Linked DNA regions of Homo sapiens: regions 1, 3 and 4 are each linked to region 2. The links are contacts of gene promoters, found by promoter capture Hi-C in blood cells and fetal thymus (Javierre and others, 2016). All regions are on one chromosome and are shown on one strand. Each heading gives the region's core, a stretch centred on a gene start or on the middle of the fragment in contact. The rest is flanking DNA. Distances are from core to core; before and after follow the strand shown. Region 1 overlaps SLC9A8 (solute carrier family 9 member A8). Region 2 holds the start of PTGIS (prostaglandin I2 synthase). Region 3 has its middle 20 kb from the start of SPATA2. Region 4 overlaps SLC9A8 (solute carrier family 9 member A8).

Evidence for each region. Contacts are between HindIII fragments. The CHiCAGO score rates a contact against its expected background, and 5 or more counts as called.
Region 1: a contact is called between a fragment that was not itself captured here and the fragment with the promoter of PTGIS in region 2, in 6 of 17 cell types (endothelial precursors, M0 macrophages, activated CD4 T cells and 3 more). The highest score is 6.8, in endothelial precursors.
Region 3: a contact is called between a fragment that was not itself captured here and the fragment with the promoter of PTGIS in region 2, in 3 of 17 cell types (erythroblasts, M0 macrophages and megakaryocytes). The highest score is 7.7, in erythroblasts.
Region 4: a fragment that was not itself captured here is called in contact with the fragment with the promoter of PTGIS in region 2 in 3 of 17 cell types (erythroblasts, monocytes and naive B cells); the score reaches 6.6 in erythroblasts.

Annotation. Positions count from the first base shown.
Region 1 is chr20:49,848,035-49,852,580 of GRCh38, reverse strand. SLC9A8 (solute carrier family 9 member A8) reads right to left here. Exons shown (of 16, transcript NM_015266.3): 6 at 2,901-3,002; 7 at 1,737-1,771. Among named protein-coding and RNA genes, the nearest start is that of MIR12122, 14 kb to the left of the region's middle. The HindIII fragment of the contact is 1,994 bases long and covers 1,498-3,491 here.
Region 2 is chr20:49,566,727-49,571,237 of GRCh38, reverse strand. It overlaps PTGIS (prostaglandin I2 synthase), which reads left to right and starts at 3,101. Exons shown (of 10, transcript NM_000961.4): 1 at 3,101-3,195. The coding sequence starts at 3,122. It overlaps LOC101927486 (a long non-coding RNA gene), which reads right to left and starts at 3,194. Exons shown (of 2, transcript XR_244188.4): 1 at 3,065-3,194; 2 at 1-25. RefSeq lists enhancers at 1,570-2,184, 2,185-2,801. The HindIII fragment of the contact is 14,656 bases long and covers 45-4,511 here.
Region 3 is chr20:49,892,794-49,897,682 of GRCh38, reverse strand. No RefSeq gene overlaps it. Among named protein-coding and RNA genes, the nearest start is that of SPATA2, 20 kb to the left of the region's middle. RefSeq lists an enhancer at 2,947-3,116. The HindIII fragment of the contact is 5,027 bases long and covers 783-4,889 here.
Region 4 is chr20:49,867,903-49,873,019 of GRCh38, reverse strand. All of the region lies in intron 10 of SLC9A8 (solute carrier family 9 member A8), which reads right to left. Among named protein-coding and RNA genes, the nearest start is that of MIR12122, 6.6 kb to the right of the region's middle. RefSeq lists an enhancer at 4,871-4,920. The HindIII fragment of the contact is 5,734 bases long and covers 610-5,117 here.

The DNA of each region.
Region 1 (4,546 bases), core at 1,245-3,744, 280 kb before region 2:
CATTAACAAAATGAAAAAGAAATGAACTAAGGCAGCGAAATAATTCAGGATCTCTAAGAGTGAAATCTCTCTCCAACAAGATATCACTAGAACAAAACAAAACGTGTGCAACGAAGTTATTTTTATGTTTTCTACAGTGCAGAGGTTGCAAAAAGTCTGTGGTCCCCTCTCATGTTTGGTCTGCATGGTATTTGTGAAAAATTGAGCAAGTTGTCAACATTGAAAAACTGGAAAATTCCCTATAAAAATCTAGAAACCCAGCATCTTTTTGAAAAAAAAGTATTTAAAATAGCCACCAATTCTGGGCCCAGATTTCCACATGGTAATCATGAGTTGGCGCTGAGAAGTGGCTGTCCCTTCATACAGGGTGTGTTCTCCCACTGGCCGCTGCCCCATGTCTAGACTCACAGCTGGCCAGCTTCCCTCTGTTAAGTGCTCTGCCAGGCCCTGCGGCTGTGTGGGTTTGCGACCCCAGAGCAGTCCCCATCTGAGGGATCGTCACTTTCTAACAGCAAAGGAAACTTCTGCACACGGAGAGGAAAACACTACCCGGCTCTAAGTCAGTGTGTCTACAGGGCAATTCCTTTCCTGTCCTCCACCTGAACATCCCAACCACTGATTCAATTCAACTTCACAGGAAGTTATCCAGCATTGTCTGTATCTCTAACCAGTTGCCCCCAAAACAAGTGGAAGGTTTGAATACTGTGATACCTTCCTTTACTGGGCATTTCTTTTTATTTGCAAAATACCTACCAAACACAGGACATCAGTTCTGCTTTATTTCCAGCTCTCATGGAATAGGACTACTTGTTTATGTATCAAAACTGTCTTACAACAAAAGCTCCAAAATTGTCCTGGGCTGGGGTGGGTGGTGAGTGGAGGTAGAAATAGAATTGGATTTGTTATCAGAGACACAGTTCCCATGAAAAGGGTTCCCAGATTCTAGTCCCAAGTTGCTAAACTGCTGCTAAATCCTGAAAGCTCTGACTGGCCCCATGGCAAGGATCTGGGGACGAACATGTGACCCTGCTGCCCAGCTCCCCAGCCATGTCACAAGACCAAATGCAGACACACTGAGCAAGGCTGTCTGCTCTCAGAGGGGGGAACCCAGACTATGCTCAGCATGGGCACTTTTTCAGCACTAGATCTGGTACCTTCTGAGAGACAACTGCCTCAACCTAGTGAGGTTGCTTCTCACTATGCAATTCTGGGAAATCCTGGATGGGGCTCATGGGAAGTGCTCACGGGAGTGGCTTCAGATGGAGGGGCTTTCTACAATAACCACAATAGAGGTCTTGGCCCTGCTTCCCCCACCACAGGCTTCGTGGGAATCCCAGAGGAAAGTTTCTCCGTCACTCCCCCTCTCCATCTCTAATCTGTCAAGAAGACTTTTTGTTACGGCGACTGAAAAGTCTTGTAAATAAGAAGACAATGGTACAGTGTACGCGTGCACACAGGCAGGGCAGTTAGCTGAGCAGAGTTACTCCCTCCCAAGCTTAAACTAAATCATTCCAATCAGCAATGCCCCACTAGGGATCTTCAAAAGTCTTTAGGATACTTTTGATTCATTTCAGAGATACAAATTAACTCAGAGTAAGATTCTATGGCAGAAATCCTTACCAAAAATAAATACACAGAGAGAGAATAGAACAGTACCACACCCAGGAAGCAATGTGGAGAAACATTTCCCCTGTCTGAAAAGCAGTCGCATGGGTGTTACAGTATGAAGGATTTACCTGTCTGTCATGTTGAGTTTAGAGATTACATCAGCCTGTAAAATAAAACACACAAACACACAGACACACACAAAAAAAAAACCCTGGAGAACAGCCAAGATTTAAATGTCCATTAGTGCTTTATTAAAACTAATAAGGACATTAATCTTCAGTTCCCAAACCACTTGAAAAATAAAAGCTCCTAAGCCTTAGTTGAAACATGCATTCCATCGGCATGCAACGAGAGTATGGAAAAGAATGCTACATTCTTCAAGCCCAATTAACTGTAGTTTCCTTAAGTTTATTCTTACTTAATACTAGAAGCTGAGCAATGAAGAAAGCTGCATGACAGACAGATTTATTCTGGTGCCATCAAAGCTGCAATATAGGTGAAAATCCAATGGAATGGGCTTTGGCTATTGAGAGAAGAAAGCAGCTGATGTGTTAAAGAAATCTGCCCGTCACTCAGATACCTGACCCTCAACTTAATTTTCAGAACTGAGACAGGCAAACTTTCTGCAACTGACAATAAAGGAAAAGAATGTGACATGCATGGACATGCATAATACAAAACTACAGATACTACCTTCCTAGGGATGTTTGGTCTAAATTAATTTGAAGTCTAAAGTAGAGACCACCCAACTGGTGCCACTGGGAAGTGGTTTAGCAATTGTGGAAAATCCAGAGTATATAATTCTACAGGTAGACAGCTTAGAATTGAGTGAAGAGATTCAGCATCACCTTTGATTTTATTATTTCTCCAATGCCAGCAGAAAAGCACATCTTTGATTTTTTAAATACAAATTTTTATCAAAAAACAGCATTCAACCCCAATTCAGTCTACTTGACAACACAGTTTGAAGTTCTTGATGGCATATATTTGGCTTCATTTTTAGGTATTCTAATTTAAGACAGTATTGGTTTGCAAATAAACTCAAATACTTTGGGGGGGATTATGGAAAAGTTTTACTCAATTCCAGATACCAAAGGTCTTGGAGGACACTTTGAAACAATTTAGCACGCCTCTACTGTGCCTCATATGAAGCTAGGATTTCCTTCCAGAAGGAATTTACCTTAAGGGTGAAACCCAGGCCCCACAAAGTGGCCCCATTTCACCTTCCCACCTCCCTGCACTAGCTCTAAGAATGTAAGACTTTCAAAGTGTTTCAAAGATGATTTTCTTACCTGACCCAGAAAATAAATTCCTCCACCTACTACAAAAGCGGAGATTGCCGTCCCAAAAACAGCAAACAGGGTGATGGAACCAATATTTTGAAAGAAGTTACCCTGTTTGAAAGAGCAGAAATCAGGGAAATGATTAGAAAAGCCATTCCTGTCAGTGAAGGCACGGCCTGCACACCTGGCCCTCCGTGCAGACTTGATTCTCTGTAAAAGGCACCACTGCCCAACCTGTGTGGCAAGCTGGGAGCCCGGGAGTCTTCCTGCACCCCCGCACTTACTGCAGTGTCCCGTCACTCACACCATCTTTCATCTGAAACACTGCATAGCTTCGCACAAGTCTCCTCAACCCCCCAGGGCCCCTTTCCCTCCACTCTCCCGTCTTTCCAGAATGATCTTCCCAAAAGACAAATCTGATTGTGCTGCCTTCACCTGGACCCCTATTTCCACTTAAAATGCAGCTAGCCCCCACCCTGAATGATTCGACTCCTGGGGAGGCCTCTGGGCTCATCTGGCACCATGCTCGCCTTTGTTCTCTGGGTTCCAGTCCCACTGGTGGCTTCGAGCAGGTTGTGCTCCCTCTTTGCTTGTTAAGCTTTCATCATCCCAAGATCTCAGGACATTTCAACTCTTCCCAGATCCTAGTCTGTGCTCTCAGTGCACAGTCACCCTCTCTTGTAGCGGTTGACAAGACTGCAATTTTGCACTTATTTATGTACTGATGTCTTACTTTCCCATGAGGCTGCAGGCTCATTCTGGGCAATGACCCCACCTGCTTTCGCACAACACGGTCCCTGACATAATGCCCGTCAGATGGAAGATGCCCAACAGACAGGCACTGAAGGAATTAACTGTGTTTCACATCCAAAGTCCACACTATTAGGATACCAAGATACACTATCAGATATTCCTTTTTCCTGGCCAGGTCTTTTAAACAATTTTACTTCACTCTATTAGTATCATCATTAACTATGTCAGATAAAATGTTTCTATCTATACTTCACAGCGTTTAAGATAAAATATTCAAGTTCAAGCAGCATGGTAGCATCTTTCAAATTTCCATAAAATTAAGGAAATTAAGCTATTTATTATAACCCTATGAACTCCACTTAGGAGCTACCAAGAGTCTTTGATCACCCCCGATTGTGGTTGTGAACAAGAATCTTGTTTTTAGCTCAGAAATCACCAAACCATGGACATCAAGACCTGCTATTTTAAAGCCCACTTGTGAAAGAGTGTCCTCAGCTGAACACTGACTGCCCCACTAAGCCCACCTCCTAGAAGCTGCAATTTTGACTTGGCTGCCTATCATCTGACATTCAATTCCTTTGTTTGGCATATCAATCTTTACTGCACAAAGAATTTTAAAACACAATGATTTGGTTTTTCAAAACAAAGGGCTTTCAATCTATGAGTTGCTCTTTGCAAATCGCTGTTTTCTTTTGTTATTTAAAAACAGATTAGACTGGGCTCGGTGGCTCAAACCTGTAATCCCAGCACTTTGGGAGGCCAAGGCGGGTGGATCATCTAAGGTCAGGAGTTCGAGACCAACCTGACCAACATGGAGAAACCCCATCTCTGCTAAAAATACAAAATTAGCTGGTGTGGTTATAGACGCCTGTAATCCCAGCTACTCGGGAGGCTGAGGCAGG
Region 2 (4,511 bases), core at 1,852-4,351:
CCAGAGGGTTGGATGTCCTGTCAGCCTGATAAACATAGAAAGCTTACACAGTAAGCAAAGTAAAAATAATAAAACAAAGCAACACTTTTGAATTCTCGCATGGGCCAGTCCTGCAGAGGTGCTCCGGATGCATCATTGCCTCATTTGGTCCTCCCTTCAGCCATATCTAGAAGGCGTCTCAGTTGGGAATGTCTTTGGCTGCAAGTATTAGAAAAATCTGACTCATGGTGTCCTAGCACAGACGTGTGGTTAGCTCATTAAATGAGAAATCTATAGGCAGGTGGTTCCAGGGATGGTGATTCCGCAGCTCTGGTTTGGGGCTCTGCAGTTTTCTTGGCCTTCCCTCATAACACTACAGCCCCCCTCAGCTCCCCCACTAATCACATTCCCACACGATTGCCCCCAAAGCAGAAGAGAAGGCAAATAGGAAGGAAACACATTTTTCTAGAAGCCCGCAACAGATATCTGGAAGGTGCCCACCTCAGGACAAATCACTAGCAAAGGTGGATTTCCTGGACCAGCTCAGACCCATGGTGGGTCATTCTCTGGGAAGGGGGCCTGGCCACCTTCCTAAACATATGCCGACTCCTGAACAAATCCAGGAAGAACCAGAGGCTCACATTCATCTCCCTTTGGTGTGTGAGCAGCTGCCTCTCCTTCCCTGGGAGGATTTTGTCTATGGGTCGAGAAGGGAAGAGAGTATCTGGAAGAGATATTTGTATTGAGGTGATATTGGTCTGCACTGAAGCCAGGGGTGGGGAGTAGAAGAACTAATATTTATTGAGTACCTATTGTATACCAGACCCTGTGCTGGGTGATTTCATTCTCTTTTCATTTAATTCAGTTCTCAAAGCAGCCCCATGAGGAAGGAACTGTTCTTCCCATTTTTCAGATGGGAAAATTGAGACCAAGCCTGATCACAGATAATGGAGAGGAGCGGAACTGGTATAAGCGCTAATTGCGGTTAACTTTCCCTGATGCTCATGGTGTGACAGGCACTCACATAGGTGTGCCCCATGGACCAGGTCGTTTGTTCCTGACCTCAACTCCATGAGGTTCTCTTTTCCCCATTCTGTCAATGAGGAACCTCAGCTTAGGGAGGTGGAGCAGTCTGCTTGGGGTCACAAAGCTGAGGATCGGCCAAGCCCAGCTGTGAACCCCACTGCTAGCAGACAGCCCTTTGGAGCTCCCCAAATTTGGAGAAAATCCTCTGGACCCGTTCTATGGCCTTCTTGGGATTGTTGGCTTCTCTGGCAGATAAGCTGGAAAAATAAACAAGAGGATCAGAAAACTCCTTTTGCCTCCTGCTGTTCTGAATCTGCTGAGGCCACAAGGGGGTCATCCAGCTGCCTCGACAGCCAACATTAAGCAGGCAAATGAATGAATCTTGAGTATGATAGCAGGACATGTGAAGTACTGCCAGAAAAAAAAACTATCAAAAAAACAAAGAAACAAAAATCAGTAAGAGGAGATGACTGTTTTAGACCAGGTGGCCAAAGACAGCTTCTCTGCAGTGACAGCTGAGCAGAGATAGAGGCACCGGGGAGGTGGTGGAAAGAGCAGGCTGTGCGAAGAATGCTCCGAACAGAGGGAACAGCACGTGCAAAGGCCCTGCAGTGGGACCTCTAGGGAAAGATGGGGAGATCAGTGTGGCTGGAGCAGAGTGGGTGAGGGAGAGAGTCGGGGGCATAGGGTCAGGCAGGTAAAGGTGAGAAGGGGCGGATCATGCTGGTTCTCGAAGGGCCTTGTCAGGACCCTGGCTGATAAGGATGGAAGCCAGGAGACCAGGAGGAGCAACAGCTTCTCCAGAGCTCTGCTGGGACTATGGAATGAAACGTGCCTAAGCTCACCCGGCACTGAATGGGTGGATACAGGACTAGAACAAGACCTCCTGGGTCTTACCTCCAGGTTCAGCCCATGGTTTCATAAAACTTAGTGTGCCAAGCACTCAACAGTTTGTGATTCCTTTTAGTGTCAAGCTCTCATCACTTCCTCACAACAGCCCCAGAGGTAAGCACAACTCTGCCCTCCCTGTTTCCAGATAATGAGGTGAGCTCAGAGAGGTTGAGCTACCTGCCCAACGCTTCCCAGGGTGGGAATGGGGATGGTGGGGGCAGGGGCGTGGAGTGAGGCTGGATTGACCCCCAGTTCTCATCAGCACCCTGGGGTGGTACATTGCAGAGCCGCGGGCACAGGGGGCTGGCACCCCAAGCACCAGGTAGCGATGACAATGGCCACCACATCCGGAGGCCCTAACGTGCACCAGGTAGAGGGTGCATACTTCACGGGCACTATCTGTCCCCAAAGCAGGTGAGGATGAGGGGACTCCCTGAGACACCCTTGTACCCCCTGCCCAGTAGTTACTGAAGATACTATAGGGTGCGATATAATCCAGACCAGCCCTCCCAGCCCAGACCACAGAATGGAAAACTCCAGGTCCCCAGCACGCCTGGGGTGGGGGATGGGGTGAGGAGGAGCCTTGGGGGGTTTCCTCTGTCTAGGTGGAATGTGGAATGTGGTGGGAAAGCTCCTCCTGACCCCCTTACACTCCTCCTCCATGTTCGTCCCCTCCCACCACATTTTCTCCTCCCACTGTGCCCCCTCCTCCCCATACCTCCTTGGCTGTTTCCCCATCGTCCCGCCGTCTTCCCACATTCCCTCCTCTTCCCTTCCCCAAAAGTCCTCTCCCATCTTCCCCATCCCTCTTCCCTCCCCGCATATAATCTCTTCCTTCCTGTAAATCCTCTCCCTCTCCCCTCCCTTCCATCACCCCCCAGTCCACCACATCCCCCTCAGTCCCCCATCTATCTCCTTTCCCCTTGATCACTCCCCAGCCCACCACATCCCTTCCGCCCCCTCCCCCTCCCCCTCCTTCTCCCCTCCCCTCCCTCCCACATTTTCCATCAGGCCTGAGCTGGGGGGAGCAGGGTTTCTAACAGAGCGCCCCGGTCCGACCCCTGCGGACCTCGGAGGGCCCCATCCCCCACCCCCCCCACCCCGCCCCAAAGCGGGCTGGGGTGGGCGGAGTGGGAGGGGCGCGCCGGGTGGGGGCGGGGAACTTTACCTGGGAGTGGGCCAGGCCGCCAGCCCCGCCAGCCCCGCCAGCCCCGCCAGCCCCGCGATGGCTTGGGCCGCGCTCCTCGGCCTCCTGGCCGCACTGTTGCTGCTGCTGCTACTGAGCCGCCGCCGCACGCGGTGAGTGTCCTGCTCCGCTCGGCCCCGCCAGACAAAGGGGGCGGCTCCCGCCCGGGCTGCAGCCCAAGGGTCTCGGAGCCCGCGGCCGGCCCGGCCCGAGTCCCGCTCCAGTATCCCGGGCAAGGCGAGACCCTCGGAGGTGGGAGTCCCGGGGCCCCGCACGTGGGTGAGGGGGCCAGGCCGTGCTCCCCCTGCCAAGAAGGTGCAAGGTGGGAAGGTGCGGGGTCCGGTAGGTCCCCCGGGGCGAATCGCCCACCGCGACAAGTCCGAGTCTGGCCCTTAGCGCGACGGCAGGGACCTAGGAGGGGGTTTCAGGTGAGGACCGAGGGTTTGTGGGTGGGGAGCCGTGCGGGGACAGCCTCTGCGTGGCCCGGGTGGAAGAAGCGCTCTCCACTCTCCAGCCTCTGCCTGCACCTGGCACCCACCTACGCGCTGTCAAACCCTGCCTTGCTTTCGGCAGTCCTATAGGGATAGCCTCGCTCCTCAACCCATTACACAGATGGGAGTGTTGAGCCAGCGGAGTGTAGAGCCCCTGGGGGATGTCTTGATCATGCCCTGGAACCACCCACCCCGGGATTCCCCGTCTGGAAGACGGGGGTCGGTGGGCTTAGTAATTTCATTTGCCAGGGAGAAACTGAGGCCTATGAAGTCTCTACCTTCCCCTGAGGTCCCACAGCCTGGACAGAACGGAGCCAGGGTCAGATGTCACAGCCTCCTGGTCCCAAAGGTTTTCCAGCTCCATTGAGCATCTGTGATTTAGGAGAAAAAGTAAAGACAGCCTCAAATCAAGGAGATAGCTGTAGCTCTCCTTTTCATAAAATATTTTTTAAGTTAACTTGAATTGCATAAGGAATAGCTGAATACATTCGACTTAACACAAATATTTATCCTGTTATAGGTAAGACCGAAGCCCCTTAACCCTCCCCCAGCCCCTGAAGTCTAGTCCTCTCTCCCTCTCTGGGCCTCTCCTGTTGCTGAGTCTGGGTAGAACCTTCCATATTTAAAAAAATATACTTTTTATTTGAGACTAGTTTGGGATTTACAGAAAGTTGCAAAGATAGTACAAAAAGTTCCTGTATTTCTCTCACCCCGTTTTCCCTATTGTTAACATCTTACATTGTTATGGGACATTTGTCGCCACTAAAAACCAACACTGGTCCGTTACTCTTAACTAAACTTCAAACTTCACGGGATTTTATCCAGTTTCCCATTACTGTCCTCTTTTGTTCCAGGATCCGGCCCCAAGTTACCACATTGCCTTTAGTTTTCATACCTCCTCAGTCTCCCAGATGTTTTAAAAATTACTCTTACATAAA
Region 3 (4,889 bases), core at 2,047-4,546, 330 kb before region 2:
AGGGATTGCATTGAATCTGTAGATCCACTTTGGGCAGTATAGATCGTTTTGTTGTTGTTTTTTTGAGACAGGGTCTCGCTCTGTCACCCAGGCTGGAGTGCAGTGGTGCAGTCATGGCTCATTGCAGCCTTGAACTCTTGGTTCAAGAGATCCTCCCACCTCAACCTCCCAAGTAACTGGCACCACAGGCATGTGCCACGCATGGCTAATTCTTAATTTTTTTTTGTTGAAACAGGGTTTCACTGTGTTGCCCAGGCTGGTCTTGAATTCTGGCCTCAAGTGATTTGGGAGGTCTTGGCCTCCCAAAGTGCTGGGATTACAGGCGTCAGACACCATGCCTGGCCCTATTTGTGTCTTTTAAAATTTCTTTCAGCATGTTTTATAGTGTTCAGTGTACAAGTCTTTCTTGCTGCTTGGTTAAATTTATTCCTATTTAATTCTTTTTGATGCTATTATAAATGGGATTTTTTTCTTAATTTCCTTTTCTGATTGTCCACTGTTTATGGAAATGCAGCTGACTTTTGTGTGTTGACTTTGTATCCTGCAACTTTGCTGAATTTATTTATTAGTTTGAACAGTTTTTTTCTTGTGGAATCTTCAGGGTTATCTACATATAAGATCATGTCATCCATGAGATAATTTTAGCTTCTTTCTTACCAACCAGGGTATCTTTTCTTTGGTTTTCTTGCTTAATTGCTCTGGCTAGAACTTCCAGTACTACGTCGAATTGAAGTGGTGAATGTAGGTATCCTTGCCTTGTTCCTGATCTTAGAGGATAAGCTTCCAGTCATTCACCATTGAGTATGCTGTCAGCTGTTATCCTAGATGGCCTGTATTGTGTTGCAGTAGTTTCCCTCTATTCCTAGGTGGTTGAGTGTTTTGATCGTGAAAGGGTGTTGAATGTGTGCATGTATTGCATGGTAGCTGGCTGTTGGGGTTTGCTTGGATTTGGGTCTGATCTCTGTGGTAAGAATACTTGATGCGTATTCTCTCATCAGGAGGCATATTATGTCGAGTTCTCTCCCTTTGGGGAATTAGCAGCTATTAAGGCTGTTACTTCCCACTTAGATCCATTATTTCACTGGAAGTTACAAAATAGAGATATTCCAATTCAATGATTTCTTCTTTGTTTGGCAGCTGGAATACTTCTATAAAAGGCAACTTCCCTGTGATGGTGGTTATGCGAATCTACACGATATAAAATTGCGTAGAACTAAACACACACACACACGAGTGCCTGTAAAACTAATGAAGTTGGAACAAGATCTGTGGACTGTGGCAATGCCAGTTTCTTGGTTGTGAAACTATTCTGTAGTTGTGCAAGATGTTACCACTGAGGGTAACGGGGGGAAGGGTACATGGGACCTTTCTGTACTATCTTTTTTGCAACTTCTTGTGAATCTGTGATTTTTTTTTCTTGAGACAGGGTCTCATTCTATCACCCAGGCTACAGTGCAGTGGCACGATCACAGCTCACTTTAGCCTTGACCTCCTGGGTTCAGCCTTCTGAGTAACTGGGACCACAGGTGTACACCAACATGCTGGCTAGTTTTTTTTAATTATATATAGAGAGACAGGGTCTCCCTATGTTGCCCAGGCTGGTCTCAAACTCCTGGGCTCAAGCAGTCTTCCCACCTTGGCCTTCCAAAGTGTTGGGATTACAGGTGTGAGCCACCACACCTGGCCTTACTCTTCTGTTTTTTTCCCCAACCTTTAAAAAATGTTAAAACCATTTTTAGCTCTTAGGTAGTACAGACACAGGAGGCGGGCTGGATTTGGGCCACAGGCAGTAATTTGCCAATCTTTGCCCCAGGGCTAGAAGAGGAATCGTGGGTGGAAGGGCCACAGGCCTCTCCGTGGTGACTGCATCAGTTTGGACCCTCACCTGTTTCCCTAGGGGCCTTCAAGTCACTCCATCTAATGCACTGCTCCTCTAGTTCTGGTCAAAGAACATGTGTGTTCCTTATTATTGACTTAATAAATATTCTTTATGAGAGAAATAGAAAGTATATGCAAACAGCAAGATTTTAAAAGTTACCTATAATCGGCCAGATGCGGTGGCTCATGCTTATAATCCCAGCACTTTAGGAGGCTGAGGTAGGTGGATCACTTGAGGTCAGGAGTTTAAGACCAGCCTGAACAACATGGTGAAACCCCGTCTCTACTGAAAATACAAAATTAGCCAGGCGTGGTGGCAGGGGCCTGTAGTCCCAGCTACTTGGGAGGCTGAGGCAGGAGAATCTCTTGAACCTGGGAGATGGAGGTTGCAGTGAGCGAAGATCGTGCCACTGCACTCTAGCCTGGGCAACAAGAGCAAAACTCCATCTCAAAAAAAAAAAAAAATTTACCTATAATCCTTCCACTTGGAGAGAACCAAAGTTAAGTTAAAACTCTATGTCTATCCTTTAAGATTTTTTTCCTGTATACACATACTGCTAATTTAATTTATAGAGCCACATCTATTGATATGGTTCTGAAATCTGCTTTTCTCAGTTCATGAAGTTATAACAGCATTATTTCTGTTGTAACAAAATACCCAACCAGAAATGGCAGATACAGAACATGTATTGCCCCATGTCATGAGATCCAGAGGGAGGTCAGTTCCAGGACTGGTTAATTAACTGCTCCAGCAGTGTCCTTGACAACATACAAGCCTTCTGTCTTTCTGCTCTGCCATCCTCAGCATGGTGGCAAGGTGTTCCCTCCTGGTCTCCAAATGGCTGCAGCAGGTGGAGGCATTACATCCTCAAGTAATGGGAGGCAAAGGTCAGACAATGGGAAGAGAACATGTCCCTTCCTTGAGTGTCTTTTTGAGAGTAAGGAAAGTTTTAGAAATTCCTCAAAAGATTGCTTCAGGCCAGGCGCGGTGGCTCACACCTGTAATCCCAGCACTTTGGGAGGCCGAGGTGGGCGGATCACCTGGGGTCAGGAGTTCGAGACCAGCCTGGCCAACAGGGCAAAACCCCATCACTACTAAAAATACAAAAATTAGCTGGGCATGGTGACGGGCACCTGTAATCCCAGCTACTCAGGAGGCTGAGACAGGAGAATCGCTTGAACCCACGAGGCGAAGATTGCAGTGGCCGTGAGCTGAGATGGTGCCACTGCACTCCAGCCTGGGCGACAGAGCGAGACTTCGTTTTTTTTTGTTTTGTTTTGTTTTGTTTTGTTTTTTTTAATCGCTTCATTCTCCTGCCAAATAAGGTCACAGACCCATTCCTCAGCCAATCTCAGACAAGTAGAGGGAATGACCAGGAACAACCTGAACCGAGAACTGGCTCTGTTTCCCCTTGAAGCATACAGTCACCCATTACACGAACCACATGGGTTCTCTTAGCAAAGACAACAGGGCTCGGGGAAGAAGTGGTGGTTGAAAGGAACCACCAGGTCTTCCATATTAGGGATGAATGGGTGCGCGCTGGAGTGCCAGTATGTGTATTTGTATAAAAGGATGTACTAAAATTTCTACTTTCGTTTTTAGTCATTTTAAAATCTCAAACAGCATTTAAGGAGAGGGTGAAATGTTTCTCTCTCCCTAAAGGTGGTAAAATGCTGGTCTGATAACATTCTAAACATTTTTCCACATCCTTAGAATCTTGAGCTGTTGGTAAATATTCTATCATCATTTATCTCACCAGTCCCTCATTCATGGACAAGGAAGTTGTTTTCCATTTATCCTCATTCAGATATTGCCGGGATGACCATTCTTGGAGTGCGGTTTTCATGCACTTTCCTTTTGCCCCATGAGTGGAACTGCTGGGCCGTTTTCAGGCTTTGGAGAGCTGTCACCACAGTGTCCTCTGGAGAGTGTGAGCCAGCTGCCCTCCCACCAGCAGATAGGAGCGTATGGCTCATCTTCGCCACAAAATGAACCAACTACATTTTTGTGCCCTTTTTTTTCTGTAAGCAAAGACTTATTTTCTTCCCCATTTACATCAGGGTATTAGCTGGCAGCTGCCTGTATGCGCAGAGGTTCCTTCTGTCCCCAGCACCAGACTGGTCCCAACTGATGCTAAGACCCCCCAGGTCTGCCAGGCGGCCTCCCCAGGCAGGGGGAGTGTGGCTGATGCCTGCCTGCTCTCCTGCAGGTCCATAAATATTCACAAAGAGGACCCTCATTTACGGGGCACTTACTGTCACCCAGGGCCTTGAGATGACTGTACTGGCCCCTGGCCCCTGACCCCCACTGCCCTTCATGTCTCACATCTTCTCTGGCTAGAGCCAGAGGGCTGTGTTGTCCCTTGCTTGGGGTGGGGGGGTTGCCTCCAAGAGGCAGTGGGGCCCCGCTCCAGGCCAGCTTCATTCCCCTAGTGCCCTGTGGAATAATAAGCGGGGGTTACAGGACCCTCAACTTTGTGTGTGACCCTCCAACCCCCCGCCAGCTTTCTAGCCTCTAAGGAAAATATTTCTTGCCTCGATTGCTCCCCTCTACCCTGAGAGCTTTTTTTAGGAGTTGAGAAGGTTGAAATACAAATGAAACATACCCTGTTCCGTGGGAACGAGGTGCCCACTCAGGACCACCCCCCACCTTTGCTGCCAGCACTCCGTTCCGTCCCAGCTGACACTCTGCTCAGCACAGCGCAGCTCCACTTCCCAGCCGCCCTCGCAGGCAGGGCTGGCCTGGAAAATTCTGCTGTTAGCCAGAGTCCTTATCACTCTCGTGGTGCCTCCCTGACACTGAGGCCAAGTGTCAGCTACCACTTCTCATCACACTTGCAGTTTTTATTATGGTGGAGAAATATTTCTCTGAATCTGGGTTTCCACCAAAAGCGGGCCACGGGGAGCCCACTGTGGCCTCGGGAGTCTCCCCTGGGGTGGGCTGAAGCACAGTGTGGGAAGGAACCAGGAAACTCAGCTCTTGCCCCCTGGCTGGGGCCAGGACAGCTTCT
Region 4 (5,117 bases), core at 2,227-4,726, 300 kb before region 2:
AGTCACTCCTGAGGAACTCACAGGTCTCTTCTCAGCATCTCCCTGCATAGGGAGCAGGAAAGGGGTCTCTATTTCATGTAAGGAAGCTGAGATTGTCTTAAAAAATCATCAAATAAGCTGCCAAGATATACTAATTCCAAGTCAAACTTTAAAAGCAAAGTTTTAATTCACTTCTGCCATTTTGTGGAAACAGTGACTATCTGGCAAACTTTCCACGTATAAAAGGGTGAAAATCGGCCGGGCGCGGTGGCTCATGCCTGTAATCCCAGCACTTTGGGAGGCCGAGGCGGGTGAATCACGAGGTCAGGAATTCAAGACCAGCCTGGTCAAGATGGTGAAACCCCGTCTCTACTAAAAATACAAAAAATTAGCTGGGCATGGTGGCACACGCCTGTAATCCCAGCTACTCTGGAGGCTGAGGCAGAGAACTGCTTAAACCTGGAGGGGTGGAGGATGCAGTGAGCCGAGATTGCGGCACTGCACTCCAGCCTGGGTGACAGAGCAAGACTCTGTCTCAAAAACAAACAAACAAACAAACAAAAAACTGTAAAAAAAAAAAAAAGGGTGAAAATCACAGCACTGTATTACAGACTTGTCAACTGCTAAGCTTACTGTAACACAATACCCTACAAAATATAGGAAACCTACTTTTTTGTATTGCCCCAGCAGGTATGGGCTGGCTGAGTGACAGCAGGAGCTGGACATTTGATCTCCTAACCCTCTTAGGAAACAGCAAATGCCTTTGCTCTTCAGTTTCCCCTACAGGGAGATTCCAGCCATGCTTCCTGTAAGACACACCTGACATGGTGGGCGAAGGAAAATGAGAGGGTAGGAGACTTCTTTACCTGCTCCTTTAGGGCTCTTTGAAGCTCAAGAGTGTTTTTGTTGTTGTTTTCCTTTGAGATGGAGTTTCACTCTTGTCACCCAGGCTGGAGTGCAATGGTGCCATCTCAGCTCAATGCAACCTCCGCCTCCCAGGTTCAAGCGATTCTCCTGTCTCAACCTCCCAAGCAGCTGGGATTAGAGGCGCAGTCTCGGCTCAGCCTGTCTACAAAGGCTGACAGTAGCCCTGTGGGACTGAGGATCTAACATGGACCAGTCTTCCTTCTGGTTTTCCTTACAGGAAATCTCCATCTTTAAGGATGGCAACAAATTCAAACATTTTGGATTTTTCTATATGGATAAGTAAGCCCTGTCTGGGGGCTGAGACTGGACCACAGCTGCCACCTGTGCACCTGACCCACTGTTGGCACTGGGCCATCTGGACAATCCCAGAGGGCTTTACCCTGGGCTAGTGTGGGGTCAGGGCACCTTGAGTTCTAGGCGAAAGGAAAGAGGGTCAGCAGCAGGCACAAAAGCCAGAGGGATGGCTCAAGTATCTGCCTCATATGCCCTCCAGAAGCAAAGGGGACTCTCCACCACCCACATCACCCTCATCTGCGGCCAGTGGAGCAGGCTACAGAAACACAAAAGCGGGGGTTGGTGCAAACCAGGATAACTTTTTTAAGTGAGGTAAAAGGCATGGTATTTGAAAAAATACGCTTAAGGAAGAATTTCCTTTAAGAATTAGGCAAAATCGTTTAAGAAAGCAAATGCAGCAAAAGCGTTCAGCCTCCTGAAGGAAGAATGGCAGAAAAGAAAGGGAGAGAGGAAATCCACTTCTGTTTATGGTTACATCCACTGTTCTAGATGTAATAAAGGAAGACAGTATGGGATTCAAGTCCAAAAGGCAGTGAAAAGGTATCATGGTACAATTTACACTGTACCGTGCCTTACTGTATGTAAAATATAACATACTTCTTGAGGGCTGAGTGAAACCGTAATGAGTACGCTGTGTTAATTACTCAATAATAAACATATTTTGCCATAAAACATTCAGACTCACTGAGGTACAGAGTAAAAGACAATCTATTCATACTGCCCGCTCAGACGTAACTACTCTTAACTACTATTAACACTTCAATATGCAGACTGCCAGTTCTTTTACCATGTGATTATAAAGTTTATCTTTAAAGTAATAGGCTTGGCATGGTGGCTCACACTTGTAATCCCAGGACTTTGGGAGGCCAAAGTGGGTGGATTGCTTGAGCCCAGGAGTTTGAGACCAGCCTGAACAACAGAGTGAGACTGGCTCTACAAAAAATACAAAACTAGTTGGGTGTGGTAGCACGTGCCTATAGTCCCAGCTACTCAGGAGGCTGAGGTGGAAGGATCACCTAAACCTGGGGAGGTCAAGGCTGCAGTGAGACGTGATTGTGCCACTGCACTCCAGCCTGGGTAACAGAGCATGATCCTGTCTCAAAAAATAAAATTAAAATAAAATAAAACTAAAGTAATAAACAGGATCCTATCACATATATGGTGCCTATTACCAGCAGAGTGATTTTTTTTCAAGGGCTTCCAACTCTCTTGTCGTGGTGCATATACTAGAAACCCAGCTCCTTCTCAGGCCTGCAGAACCTGTGAGGCAGCGTCCTGGCCACACTGGTCTTCCTTCTCTTCCTGGAGCATGCCACACTCCCGCACATCTATCTTCAGACCCCTGGCTCCTGCAGTTCCTGCTGCCAAAACCCTCCTTCCCTAGAGCGTCCCTGGGCTGGCTCCTCTCGCCACACAGGTCTGGGCTCCAGTGCCACCTCCAGGGGAGACCTCCCTGACTGCCTGAGATCCCATCCATTCTCTACCACATGCCACTCTCTGTCACATGGCTTTAATTTCTCTTCTTGTCATTTCTTGCCACCTGGAATTGTTGTATGGGTTTGCTTAAATTCTGGCTTTCTTCTGCAAGAAAAGGAAACTGATCTTGTGTTGTTTATAAATGTAGCCCCAACAGCAAGGATAGTTCTCAGCATAGGGTGGACATTTAATAAGTATTTCTTGAATGGGCGAGAGTTTGATTTTTCAACTTACTTTTAAAAAATTTAACAATATGTCAAATTCTTTCCATGGCAGTACAGACAGGTCAAGTTCATTTTTTAAGTAGCTGCACAGGATTCCATAGTGCAAATGGACTGGAATTTGATCTTTTCCATTACTGATGAACATATAGTTCCTTCCAGTTTTTCTCTCCCAAGCAGTGCTGCAATGGAATTCCTTAGATATCTGTGCAGAAGAGCACTGCACCATACATTCTATCTTTGGCCAACTTCATGCCAGTATCTTTTTATTTTTATTTTATTTTTTTTTTTGAGATGGAGTCTTGCTCTGTCGCCAGGCTAGAGTGCAGTGGCAGGATCTCGGCTCACTGCAACCTCTGCTTCCCTGGTTCAAGCAATTCTCCTGCCTCAGCCTGCCGAGTAGCTGGGACTACCAGCACGTGCCACCATGCCCAGATAATATTTTGTATTTTTAGTAGAGATGGGGTTTCACCATATTAGCCAGAATGGTTTTGATCTCTTGACCTCGTGATCCACCTGCCTTGGCCTCCCAAAGTGCTGGGATTATAGGTGTGAGCCACTGCGCCTGGCCCATGCCAACATCTTAAGAAAGTGTTATGTTGGCCGGGCGCGGTGGCTCACGCCTGTAATCCCAGCACTTTGGGAGGCCGAGGCGGACAGATCACGAGGTCAGGAGTTCAAGATCAGCCTGGCCAAGATGGTGAAACCCTGTCTCTACTAAAAATACAAAAAAAAAATTAGTCGGGCGTGGTGGTGGGCACCTGTAATCCCAGCTACTCGGAAGGCTGAGGCAGAGAATTGCTTGAACCTGGGAGGCAGAGGTCGCAGTGAGCCGAGATGGCACCACTGCACTCCAGACTGGGCTACAGAGCGAAACTCTGCCTCAAAAAGAAAGAAAGAAAGAAAGAAAGTGTTATCTCATGATTAATCTTGCAAACTCATCCTTCAAGCCCAAAGTCCCCTCCTCTGTGACTCACCTTGACAGAGTGTCACTCTCTCCCATCCCCTGCAAGCCCAGTGTTCGCTAACTGCTCTGCCTAAGTGGGGTCTATTCATCTTTGAATCTTTAGTGTCAGAGGCCAAAGTGGCCCTCAAAACTGGCTTGACTGAACAATAAAAATAGTTAACATGGATACAGTCAGAACAAATATTCTGAGAATAGCTAACGCTTGCTGAGTTATAATTAGGGAGACTGTTTGATTTGCTGTGGATACCAGGACATTTTTTAGAATAAACGGGGATATTATTAATTCATCATATTGAGACAGAGGGCAAACCAGGACTTCTGGCCACCCCAGCAGTGGCACAGATGCCCCATCAGGACTCTCACTTGCATCGCTCCCCACTCCTCAGCAAAGGCGTCAGGCTGGCCCTTTTGTCTATTTTATAATGAGGAAGTAGAGCATGGGGTGGTTAAGTCTGTAATCTGAGGTTACACAGCCAATAAGAGGTGGAGCTGGGATTCAAATCCAAGTCTGTCTGTTATCCAGCCCCAGTCCTTAGCAACTGTGTTCCCTACATGTGGATTTAGGTAAATAATTCCCACTTCCTAGGAAGAGAATGTCCTGCTCCATGGTCTTGGGAACCACTTGAGATCAGTCCTTTGTGATAGTCAGGAAAAGGGGAGCACACAAAGGAAGGTGAAGACAGCAGAAACCACCCTTTCCATCTGTGCTTTCACAGTGCAATGTGGGGCGTCCACACACCACACAGGGCCATCCTGCCCCTCTCTGAAAACCCTGCGTGACAAATACCCAAAAGGCAAAGTGCGGACAGAGCAGGTTCCCTCACCCAGAGGCAGATCTGGTGTTCCTGGCTTGCACTGCTGTGTGTGGAGCAAGGTCCCTAAGGAAATGAAACCCCTCTCAACAGGAAACACTGCCAGTCTGAAAAGAAGGTAAGAAAAACACTCCCTTATTTTAATCACAGATTCCAAACAGATGCATGAAACACATCTTTGCCAACAGGTACTCAATGATCTTCTCAAGGGGGTAGAGGAACAATTTAGAAAAACAGATGTAAAAATAGCTAGGCTAGAGCCGAATGACTCACAGGTAACGTTTTTGTAAGTGCCAACATTCAGTAAAGAAAGGGAACCTCATGGCAGACACCAGGATGGAATTACCCTGGTGAACTGGTCTGCGATGAAAAACAAAACCCTGAAAATGGTGAGTCCACTCTGCTTCCTCCTTGTGCTGCTCATGCAGCACCCAAGTGTGA